Regions from separate parts of the Homo sapiens genome. Here region 2 is linked to region 1. The links are contacts of gene promoters, found by promoter capture Hi-C in blood cells and fetal thymus (Javierre and others, 2016). All regions are on one chromosome and are shown on one strand. The core of a region is centred on a gene start or on the middle of the fragment in contact, and the rest is flanking DNA. Distances in the headings are between cores, read along the strand shown. Region 1 holds the start of LINC02902 (long intergenic non-protein coding RNA 2902). Region 2 has its middle 40 kb from the start of FIGNL1.

Region 1 (5,765 bases), core at 1,976-4,475:
ATGGCTGGGCATGGTTGCTCATGCCTGTAACCCCAGCATTTTGGGAGGCCGAGGTGGGCAGATCACCCGAGGTCAAGAGTTCAAGACTAGCCTGGCCAACATGGCAAAAGCCCATTTCTACAAAAATACAAAAATTAGCTGGGCGTGCTGGTACACTTCTGTAATCCCAGATACCCGGAAGGCTGAGGAGGGAGAACACTTGAACCCAGGAGATGGTGGTTGCAGTGAGGCGAGATCATACCACTGCACTCTGGCCTGGGTGATAGAGTGAGACTCCATCTCAAAATAAATAAATAAATACATACATAATAAATAAAATGAGGTAACAAGACTTTTTTCAAAGGGTACTTTTGAAGTTTCTAATTTTTTTTTTTTTTTTTGAGACGGAGTCTCGCCCTGTTGCCCAGGCTGGAGTGCAGTGGTGCGATCTGGAATTACAGGCGTGAGCCACAGCGCCTGGTCTAATTTTTGCATTTTTAGTATAGACGGAGTTTCACCATTTTGGCCAGGCCGGGATCAAACTCCTGACCTCAAGTGATTCGCCTGCTTGGTCTTCCAAAGTGTTAGGATTACAGGCGTGAGCCACCTTGTCTGGCCTGATGCTTCTTTCTTTTTCTAAAAAAGACAGCTTCATACTTTTCTTTCTTGTCCTTTGCTTTGTTGCCAAGCTTGGAGATGATGAAATTGAGACTTAAAATAAGACAGTACGATCACCTTTTCTTGTATGTGGTTTGCAATTGAGTCCTAAGAGGCAGAAGGGGGCCACTCTGGAAATTCCAAGTCCTTGGGAGTGGTTTGTGTTTACAGTTTCACACAAAAATGAACCAGTTCCATGAAGACTCAGAAGGGAGACTCAGAAGGGTGGAGGGAAGAAGAGGGGTGGATGATGAGAAATTGTTTAATAGGTATAATGTACATTATTTGGATGTTGGATACACTAAAATACCTCTACACAATTGATATGGTTCAGCTCTGTGTCCCCACCCAAATCTCATCTGGAACTGTAATCCCCACATGTTGTGTCGAGGGAGGGACCTGGTGGAGGGAGATTGGATCATGGAGGCAGCTTTTCCCATGCTGTTCTAGTGATAGTGAGGGAGTTCTCACAAGATCTGATATGTTTATAAGTGTTGGGCAGTCACTCCTTCACTTGCACTCTCTCCCCTGCTGCCTTCTGAAGAAGGTGACTGCTTCCCCTTCTGCCATGATTGTAAGGTTCATGAGATCTCCCCAACAATGCAGAACTGTGAGTCAATTAAGCCTCTTTCTTTTTTTTAATTACCCAATCTTGTGTGGTATCTTTATAGCAGTGTGAAAACAGACTAATACAACAATATATCTATGTAACAAAGTTACACTTGTACTCCATAAGTTTGTACAAATAAAATGATAAAACTGAACCAGTTCTAAATCAGGTTAAATTGAACAAGAATATCAGGCATAGTCCATGGAAAACAACCCATACTTCTCTCTGATTCCATAATTTATTTTTTATTTCCAACTTCATGCCTCTCAGTCACGCCGGCCATCTCTATCATGTGCCTTGGACCCTCTGGCCTTGGGGCCCGAATGATGGCTTCAGCCCCTCTGGCCAGCAAGTCTGTCTGCTGCCTCTACTGGACACATGTACTGCCTAAAGCTGGGGACTTTCTTATCTGGTCCAGACCCCCAGTTCCTCTAACACACTCATTCCACAAATAGAGCCTCAGGCTCCTCCAGGCCCATGGCTACAGAGCCTTTCCTCTCCTAGAGTTTCTCTCCTTTTAGACTCACAAACTCTCTGCTTACCTGCAAGGTGACAGCCTCACTTGAGGAGGAGGAGCTGAGGTTCACTAGGTGGGAGCTGGCCCAAGTCAGTTTAGCTCAGAGGTCGGAGTCTTTGTAAGATGCAGAATGAAAATGAAGTGTTACGACCTCAACCTCCCTCTCCCATCACCCGCTGGGCAAATGCCAATGTCACATCCTTTAAACTGACTTCCTGCCTCCTAGGTCTCTGCCCTGCCTGGTTTAGATCGAAGTGATTAACCTTCTCCCGGGAGCTCGGGGAGGGAAGTCTGGCTGAGCCCTCTTGCCCTTCAGTTCTGCTGTCCTCCTCTACCCAGGTGGGTATTTGACAAGTTTGTGGATTTCAAGCAAAATGTATCTAAAATACATTGTCTTACAGTATGAACTAGAGGAAACAGTGTTTGAATGTTATCTGTTTCTTTTGGAACCAAATCATTGGGTTGGATGATTTATTAAGAAGTGAATCATCCGGGCCGGTGGCTCACGCATGTAATCCCAGCACTTTGGTAGGCCGAGGTGGGCTGACCACTTGAAGTTACAGGTTCGAGACCAGGCTGGCCAACACAGTGAAACCCTTTCTCTACTAAAAATACCAAAAACTTAGCTGGGTGTCCTGGCACACACCTGTAATCCCAGCTACTCAGGAGGCTGAGACACAAGAATTGCTTGAACCTGGGAGGTGGAGGTTGCAATGAGCCGAGATCACACCACTGTACTCCAGCCTGGGCAACAGAGCGAGACTCCTTTGTCTTGAAAAAAAAAAAAAAAATTAAAGTGTCCCAATCTGGGGGGAGGAACAGGGTCACTGCTATGAGAAAGCTAGAGATGGCCTAGGGTCCTTTCTAAAATTTCCTCTGATATTCCTCACACTTTCAAATGATTTCTCCTTTCTTCCCACTCCAGCCACAGACTGCTAGGAAGTACAGTATTTTTTCTTTTGGAAGAAAAAGTAAATGGGAAGGCACAGGATTTTTATTAATGCTGTTACTGATTTTAAAATAAGCTAAGAATGTGCCGTCAATCCAGTTGGCTGCTCCCTGCCGCCCACGGAGCCTGTAATCACTGCCTTACAGCTCACGAGAACAATGGCAACACAAGCAAACCACATCTGCATTTCCACATTCTGAGCAGCAGGTCCCTGAAATAGAGGCAGGGTACGGGAAATTATAGGACTTCAGTGAAACTGTAGGATTGCTGGGATTCCCACAGGCGCCCAGCCCTGGCTCGGGGAATATTTGAGTGTGGGAACTACCCTAGCATCTCTGCACTTACAGGAGAACCAGGGGATTCACCCGTCATGAGAGCAGAGCTCCTATACCCTGGCATCCTGCGCCCCAGGCACCCGAGGGATCCTGGGAAAACCCAAAGCTATGTGGCTAAAACTCCTGCTTTGGGGCTCAGGGTTCAGGGGGTACGCTAGACTCCTCTCCCCATTCGATTCTTGCATTTGGCAGACGAGTCACCCGGGCAGTGGGATGAGGATGGCACCAACAGAGTCAACAGAAGGAAGACGGCTCTGGCCGGGCCCCAGGGAGGGAGGCAGCGGTCAGGACAGTGGTCTTTGTGGGGCCTGGGAGGTGTGGATGCTGGGAGGGATGTGGGGGTGGTCCTGGATGACTGTTGTTCTTTCTGGACCTGGGAAGTGGTTACATGGGCGTGTCCACTTCATGATAATTTGATTTTTTGTCTTTTTTTAAAATGTTTGCTATCCATCAAAATTTGAAAAAGCTCCCAGGGCTTTGGTAACTCCCTGTGGGGCAGAGAGAGTCCACAGAATGTCAAGGCTGGATTTTCTGCCAGGCTGGAAGGAGGAGGGCTCAGGGTTGTATTTGATTTGTTTAGGAGATGGAAAGAAACTGGCCATGTCTTACACAAGGGAAAATAGTTGTTTTCCCAACATCTGGGGTCTCGAAGGCACTCGAGAAGTGATTACTTTGGGGGGTTTCTGCTTCTCCTGGCAGGCTGAGCTGTTCTGGCTGGGAGGCCTCACTTGTCTCCCCGTCCACACTGCTGGCCCGTGGGGTCTCGCGATGGCTGATGCTGATGTATGGGAAAGCCACGCACCCCAAGAGACTCCATCCTCCCAGTAAGCACTCCATGGAGGAAAGAGAGAGGTGGTAATCAATAAACTTGAGTCATTATTGATATTAGTTGTATTGAACATTTACCACGTGGCAAGCAGGGGTGCCGGGGAAAAAACGACTAAAACCTGGGAGGAAGTTTTTTTTTTTCTTTTGAGACGGAGTCTCGCTCTGTAGCCCAGGCTGGAGTGCAGCGGCGCGATCTCGGCTCACTGCAACCTCCGCCTCCCGGGTTCACACCATTCTCCTGCCTCAGCCTCCCGAGTAGCTGGGACTACAGGTGCCCACCACCACGCCCGGCTAATTTTTTGTATTTTTAGTAGAGATGGGGTTTCATCGTGTTAGCCAGGATGGTCTCGATCTCCTGACCTCATGATCCGCCCGCCTCGGCCTCCCAAAGTGCCGGGATTACAGGCGTGAGCCACCGCGTCCGGCCAAGGAAGGTATTTTTATTGGCCACAATTAACAGATGAAAAAGGCGAAGATCCAGGTGTGTTTGGAACTTGGGCCAGGTTAGGGGGTTACACAGGCTCAAGAACTGCCTTTCACTTGTTTAGATTCAGTCAAGACCAGAACAAAGAGAAACACGGAGATTTCTGTCCAGGAGTGGGCCTTCAGGGACTGCATAGCTTCTCAGTGCTCGACTTGCGTGATGGGATAAGTGCTCTTAGAGCTCACTCACCCCTTCTGTCATGTGAAGACACAGGGAGATGGCATCATCAATGAACGAGAAAGTGGGCCCTCCCCAGACAGCGAATGTCCTGGCACCTTAATCTTGGACTTTCAGCCACTAGAACTGCAAGAAATAAATTTCTGTTGTGTGCGAGCCATCCAGTCCATGGTACTTTGTTACAGCAGCCTGAAGGTACTAGCAAGCCTTAAGAAAAGTATCAGAAAATGGCCGGGCGTGATGGCTCACGCCTGTAATCCCAGGGCCTTGGGAGGCCGAGGCAGGTGGATCACGAGGTGAGGAGATCGAGACCATCCTGGCTAACACGGTGAAATCCCGTCTCTACTAAAAATATAAAAAATTAGCCGGGCGTGGTAGTGGGCGCCTGTAGTCCCAGCTACTCCGGAGGCTGAGGCAGGAGAATGTCGTGAACCCAGGAGGCGGAGGTGGCAGTGAGTGGAGATCGTGCCACTGCACTCCAGCCTGGGCAACAGAGCAAGACTCCGTCCCCCCCCGCAAAAAAAAGAAAGAAAATGGTCAACCTGTCTCAAGAGCCTCAAGATATTCTCACTAAGGTGTTGTTGATACCCTTGGACGTCTCTTTCTGTACACACATGCACTTGAGCACATGCGTCTTTTCACAGTAGCCCACTGTGCATGCTGCTTGCCACACACCTGACAGTGTCAGTCTTGGTAGGTGGTGTTGGGGGTATGTCAAGGGCTCCCCGTGACCTCCAAGATGTAGCCACTTCTGGCCCTCACCCACTGCCCTTCCAGACGCGTCTCCCAGCTAGCCCTGCACCCCCTGCTCTGAGCACCTCATCTTGCAGACACGGACACCTTCCCCTTGATCTCCTCTGTTCCTTTGGCGCTGCTGCTCTGCTGCCTGGCTGCCTTTTCCCATCTATGAATAGCGTAATTAGATTCTCCTGTAATGAAGTGAGTGGGACTTTGGAGGCCTCCATTCCCATTTTGTCCCTGTCCTGACTTCCTCACATCCCCTCCGGGACTGTCCCTCTATGTGACCTTTGGCCTTCAAGCTTCTTGCCATTGCATCTTCGCTCAACCTGTGCCTTCTCTCTGGAATGCCTCTCCCACCTTCTCTGTGCATCAAGGCCTTATTTACTCCCGAACTCAGCCTGCAGGATTCTACATAGAATTAAACTTCCCTCCTCTGGAGGCCTGTGTACTTGCTGATTGAATTAGTCAAGTGTCTTTGGTACAAGTGG
Region 2 (5,545 bases), core at 932-3,431, 2.8 Mb after region 1:
GTGGGGTTGGGGGTTTTTGGACAGCTCTGGTCCCCTCCAGCCCCACAGAGCATGCAATGTGGCTGATGCTGCTGGAGAGCTGGTCTCTGAAAGGAGAATGCATGAATCTGAACTAGAAACAGAAGGGCAGAAGGACCAGGAAAAGAAATGAGAGCCAAACAGAGTCTGAGCAATGAAAGGATGTTTCAGAGAGCTGAAAACACAAGCTAAGCTAAGCATCAGTGGACTGGGAGAGCTCTGAAAAATATCAGGGAGCCTAGAGGTATCTAGTCAAAGATGAGTACAATTACAACCAATAAACTCAAGACCAAGGACAAGAGCAGGGACATTTCCCCCAATTAGACAGTGCCCCCTCTGTGTCCCTGCCCCCAACACACATTGACACATTTGACTTTTGACTCCATTCTGTTCTCTCTGCACTGCATCTTGTCTCTGGCTCTTCTTAATCTTAAGATCCTTCATTGGTTTGTTGAATAACTTGAGCTGCAAAGCAGAGACTGGGAAGTTGGAAATAAAGTAAATCAATATCTTCTTGATAAAAGAGACACTCCTGACATCACATAATGACTTGACCCACTCACATCACATCGCTCCTCAGCCTTCAGTGCCTGGCTATGTGCTGGGATCAAGGCTCACAGCATCACAGGGGTTGGGCGCTGTAACCACCTGCTTGTGCCATGTGTACTCCCTGTCTGTCTCTACAAGTACCATTGTCACCTCCAGTTCTGCAGATGAGGACTTCGAAGCTTGGAAAAGCTGAGTAACCTGCCTGGGGTCACACAGCTGGAAATACTAGGACCAGCACTTGTCCCTGAGCACCTGACTCCTGTGCCTGCACTCTAGAAAGCACAGGGAGAAATGACCCAGCACAAAGGTGATTACAAAACAAGGTGCAATGAAAAGCGCTCTAAAGTGCTGTAAAAGCCCAGTGGAAGGAAACATCACTTCTCACTTGAGGATTACAGAAGGCTTCCTGGAAGAGATCTTGTCTGATCCCAGCTTTTCGGAATGATTGGGATTTTGATGTTGGAAGCAGAGGATTGGGGGTGTAAGAAGGGCATTCAAGACAGAACAAATGTGAATGAAATCTGTTGTATGTCAGAACCAGAAGTCCAACAGCAATAGCCCTGTTTGTCTGGGAAAGAGTACTCAAGGGGAAAAAAATAGGAGATAAATTCAGAAATGTAGACTGAGGATAGGAGGAGTTTGAACAGGTGGATAGGGAGGCATCCAGGAGTCTTAGGAGGTGAGGGGGAGGGGGTGATGCAATGAGAACTCTGGAGACAGTGAAGGGGGCCATGCCATCCAGGCAGAAGAGAGGCTTTACCCACAGCAAGGATGCTGACACTAACCAGCAGAAGTCAGGAGAGGAGAGAAGCAGAGAAGAGAGGACTGGACTCTGCCACTAGAACGCAGGCTCCAAGAGCAGGGATTTTTTGTATTTATTTAATGCCATATCCTCAGTGTCAAAAAGAGTACCTGGAACATATTAGATGCTCAATAAATATTTGTTGCATAACATCTTTTTAAGATAATTAAATCTATTGTGCTTTGACGAGAGGTAAGGAGGTGAAACCCAGTCTCAGAGCCTATATGAGCCATTACTGAGAAAAGGGAAAATGGGCAGAGGATTGGAGGAGGGGAACTTGGCTTTGTGTAAGCATGGGTGGGACAGCCGGGTCCCCATGGATGGCCAATGCATTTGGGAGTCATGAGGCATAGGCTACTATAATGGGAGCTGTGACAGGTACATGTCGCCTCAGGAAAGAGGTGGAGGGTAGGGGATGGTTCTGGGGAGCGTGGGGAGAGGAGAAGCAGGAGGAATTAGGCAAAGGAAATAAGAGGGGCTTTTCCAGATAGGAAAACTCATTGGGGACAGCATCTCAGAATTGTTTTTTTAATTCAAAAGAAGAGGCCCACAAATAGGTTCAACAAAGCCAATGCAATAAGGAAGGGGGCAGAGATGAGACCACTGAGTCAAGTGTTTAGGATGCTGGCAATGACCTTCAAGTGGTGGGTGACAGTGGACTGCAAGGGTGGGCAGAGATGGGCTCTGGAGAGCAGCCGGCAAAGAAGACAGGACCCTGCAATGCAGCCCAGGCCTCATGGAGGCCGATGCTTTGGAAAGGCCAAGTTCTTGGCTGCACTTTTCTAAGGAGAAAGGTAAGAGCCTCATGGGGATACTCCCTTGCTTTTTCTGCTTTTTGACATGGCCAAGACAGGAACAAGGCAGACATCCCTAGAACTCTGTCTCCTGTCCACGTCTGGGATCTGGGCTTCTCAAGGCAGGCTGCATCACCTTCCAGCTCCAGGAGTGGCCCTGCAGGTCCTGGAGCAACAGCCTGGCCCCTGCCCACGCCCCCTCCTCCCTGGCCGCAGGCCCTGGGCCTGGGCTGAGCAGATGGGCCCTGGCAACTCGGTGAATCGGAACTATGGGAAGCAGATGCACCCGCCATGGGTCCCCGGGCACAACTGGAACCTGCTGGGGGAGGGAATTTGCATAATAAGGATAATTTGGTACCAAAACTGTCCCCTGAAGTGAACTGCATGGATCTCGATACAGTTAACAAATTTCACTTCTTCTTTCCCATGTTTTGTCAAACCAACTAGTTGTGACGTTGAGTGTGTGAATTGTCCCAATGTTTCTGTTTCTCTGCCCATGAGTCAGCCCTGGCTTCTCTCTCTGCTTTGCTACCCCCCTGGGCCTGAGGAGGTACCATGCACATGCATATGGGCCTCTCCTGAACAAGGCCACCCTAAGACCTCTCTCTGTGGTTGCGACCACATGTGATCCCAGGTTCCCAGAAGGCCTCAGTGGCTGCGGCCTCCTCTCCGCCACCGTCTCACGGTGCTGTTCCTCCCCAGGCACCTGCGCGAGCTTCCTCATTGTCATTCTCCCTCCAGCTTCCTGTGGGTAGAGGGTGGGCTGGGCCCCACAGTAAGGAGGGTGTGCAGTTTCAGGGTCCCTCAATTTGATTCCCCTTTCAGGGACCTCCTCCCTCTGGGCACTGCCCTGATCCCCACCCTCAGTGGGCACTGCCCCTTGCAAAATCCTCTGTAAATCCCCTCTGCCCACACCCACTTCCCACCTCTGTGAGCACCACGATTCCTTTTTTAAGTTGGTCTCTCATACCACCCCATGGGAGAATGGTTGTGTGTTTTCGTGCACTGATGGGAAATTAAAGCTGACAAGCATGGAGGCAGGGACCCCAAGAGCTGAGGGAAGCTGGTCAGCTGGTCTCCCAGGTCAGATCTCATCTTCAGGAAGGCATCCATCCTCAGTGAGATGTGACCCCAGATGATCCCCCAGCCTCCTCCCAACCTCCAAATCACACCCGATTCCCAGGTTTCCTCGCATCACAGGGCCCTGCTGGTCCTGGGAAGTCTTCCCATGCTTGGCTGCCTGCTGAGTTCTTCTGGGACAAGGCAGAACTTATTGCACCTAATTTTTGGAGCTTTCTCAAGATCTGGTCTCTGAATTCCTCAAGCCCTCATGTCAGCCGTCTTAGGGCTCTCACCCCGCAGTGTATGGGATGTCCACCTCCTCCATTGGACTGTGAGCCTGTGGAGGGCAGAGGCTGGTCTCACACATCCTGAGCCTCCAATAACAACAGAAAGAAGCTTCTGCTGGAGATTCCTTCCCAGAGCCCTGGACTCCCTGAGGTCTTATCTTGCCCCAGTCAATGACGTGGGCCTGAGGCCCATGGCTTTCCCTTTGAAGCTCTGGCCATCTTTCTACTTGCTCCACAGCCAACATCAACTGCCCTCCTCCCCTACTCCCAGAGAAAGGGCCAGACGCAATAGCGTGCTGACCCCTGGGCTTCCTGGGTGCTCCAGGAGGGTACTCTCCTCATCTTAGCATTCAGGCCCTTCTTTTGGACAAAGAACTCCTCCAGGGGACAGGCAGAGCCTCTGGCCCTGAGGTGAATTGGCTGAATCTAGAGAAGGGCTGTGGGGCAGGGAAGGCCGGAAGAGCCCCCTTTGGTCATGGAGGAGTTCAGCTGTGCAGCAGTCGGCGTGGGGGAGAGGGGATTTCCCTCAAGAAAGCTTCTGGGGCTTTTTATTTTCCAATGTAAACATGCTTTTAGTACTATGAATGTGTGTTTGTGTTAATGCTCATTCAAGTGCCGCCCTATATACATAGTTCTGTCCTGTCCCACCAGCATTGACTAGGCCTGACCTTGTCATCCCAGGACCAGGAGCCAGGGTCAGAGACTTGAGAATGTAAGGCCACCACCCTGGAGGAGCTGCGGGTGAAATGGGCAACCGTCAGGCAAGACTGTCCACAGACAAGCTCTGTGCTGCCGACACAGACACCCAGGACCCAAAGGTACACAGGACCCATGGGACCAAGTGCACCTCAGCTGAATCTTGAAAAAGAGAAGGCAGAGAGGGGACAAATTGAATTATACAAAATACTCAAAGCAAAGAAGGCAAGAAGAGTGGAAGACAAACACAAAACAAAACAAAAAGGCCCACACATAGAATAGAGAACAGTTACAAATGTAATCAACATGAATCCAAATGTACCCATAATCTCTTTAAACATCAATAGTCTAAGGACAGCAGTTGAAAGATAGAGTTTCAGTGGATCCAAAGATGTGACCCAACTAGATGTTGTCTATAAGAAATCCATTTTTCATGCCTGTAATCCCAGCACTTTGGGAGGCTGAGGCGGGTGGATCACGAGGTCAGGAGTTCAAGACCAGCCTGACCAACATGGTGAAACCCCGTCTCTACTAAAAATACAAAACTTAGCCAGACATGGTGGCACACGCCTGTAATCCCAGCTACTCAGGAGGCTGAGGCAGGAGAATCGCTTGAACCCGGGAGGTGGAGGTTGCAGTGAGCTGAGATCGCGCCACTGCACTCCAGCCTAGACGACAGAGTGAGACTCCGTCTCAAAAAAATAAAAAAAGGAAAAAATAAATCCATTTTAAGTATAAAGACACATAAGGATTAAAAGTAAAGAAATTAAGGAAAAAATACCATAGTTACACTATCAAAAGAAACCTGGAGTAGCTATACTGATTGATTTCAGACACAGCAGAGTCACAGCAAGCAAAGGCATCAGGGTAAATGGGGGCATTCTATAATGACACGGGGGTCAATTTTCCAACAAGATGTAACAATCCTTAGCATGTGCATGCCTAACAACAGAGCACCAGCATACATGAGGCAAAAGCGGAGAGAACCACACAGAAATCAATGAACCCACTCCTAGAGCTGGAGACTCCAACATTCCCCATCAGAAATGGACAGATCCAGCAGGCAGAAAATCAGTAAGGATGTAGTTGAACTGAAAGACAGGAGTTATTTGGGCAAAGAAAGGCAGCAGACAGTTTCAGGCAGAGGGGGCAGCGTGAATGCGGTACAGAGGCCTGGACACGGAATAGTGCTGAAGGAAGGCAAGGCCGTGTGGCTGGGCTGGAGGAGTGTCCTGGGGGCTGGGGAGTGCCAGACGCCTGGAGAGAAGGGGTCCACCATTCAGCCAAAGAGGTGCCCTCTGAGGGTTGGGGAAGGCAGCAGGAGCTGAGCCCCTGTC

What was found. Contacts are between HindIII fragments. The CHiCAGO score rates a contact against its expected background, and 5 or more counts as called.
Region 2: a fragment that was not itself captured here is called in contact with the fragment with the promoter of LINC02902 in region 1 in 1 of 17 cell types (naive B cells); the score reaches 5.3 in naive B cells.

Annotation. Positions count from the first base shown.
Region 1 is chr7:47,652,019-47,657,783 of GRCh38, forward strand. It overlaps LINC02902 (long intergenic non-protein coding RNA 2902), which reads left to right and starts at 3,226. Exons shown (of 3, transcript NR_171030.1): 1 at 3,226-3,330. The HindIII fragment of the contact is 4,908 bases long and covers 667-5,574 here.
Region 2 is chr7:50,407,538-50,413,082 of GRCh38, forward strand. No RefSeq gene overlaps it. Among named protein-coding and RNA genes, the nearest start is that of FIGNL1, 40 kb to the right of the region's middle. RefSeq lists enhancers at 2,299-2,799, 3,475-3,534, 4,035-4,114. The HindIII fragment of the contact is 2,875 bases long and covers 745-3,619 here.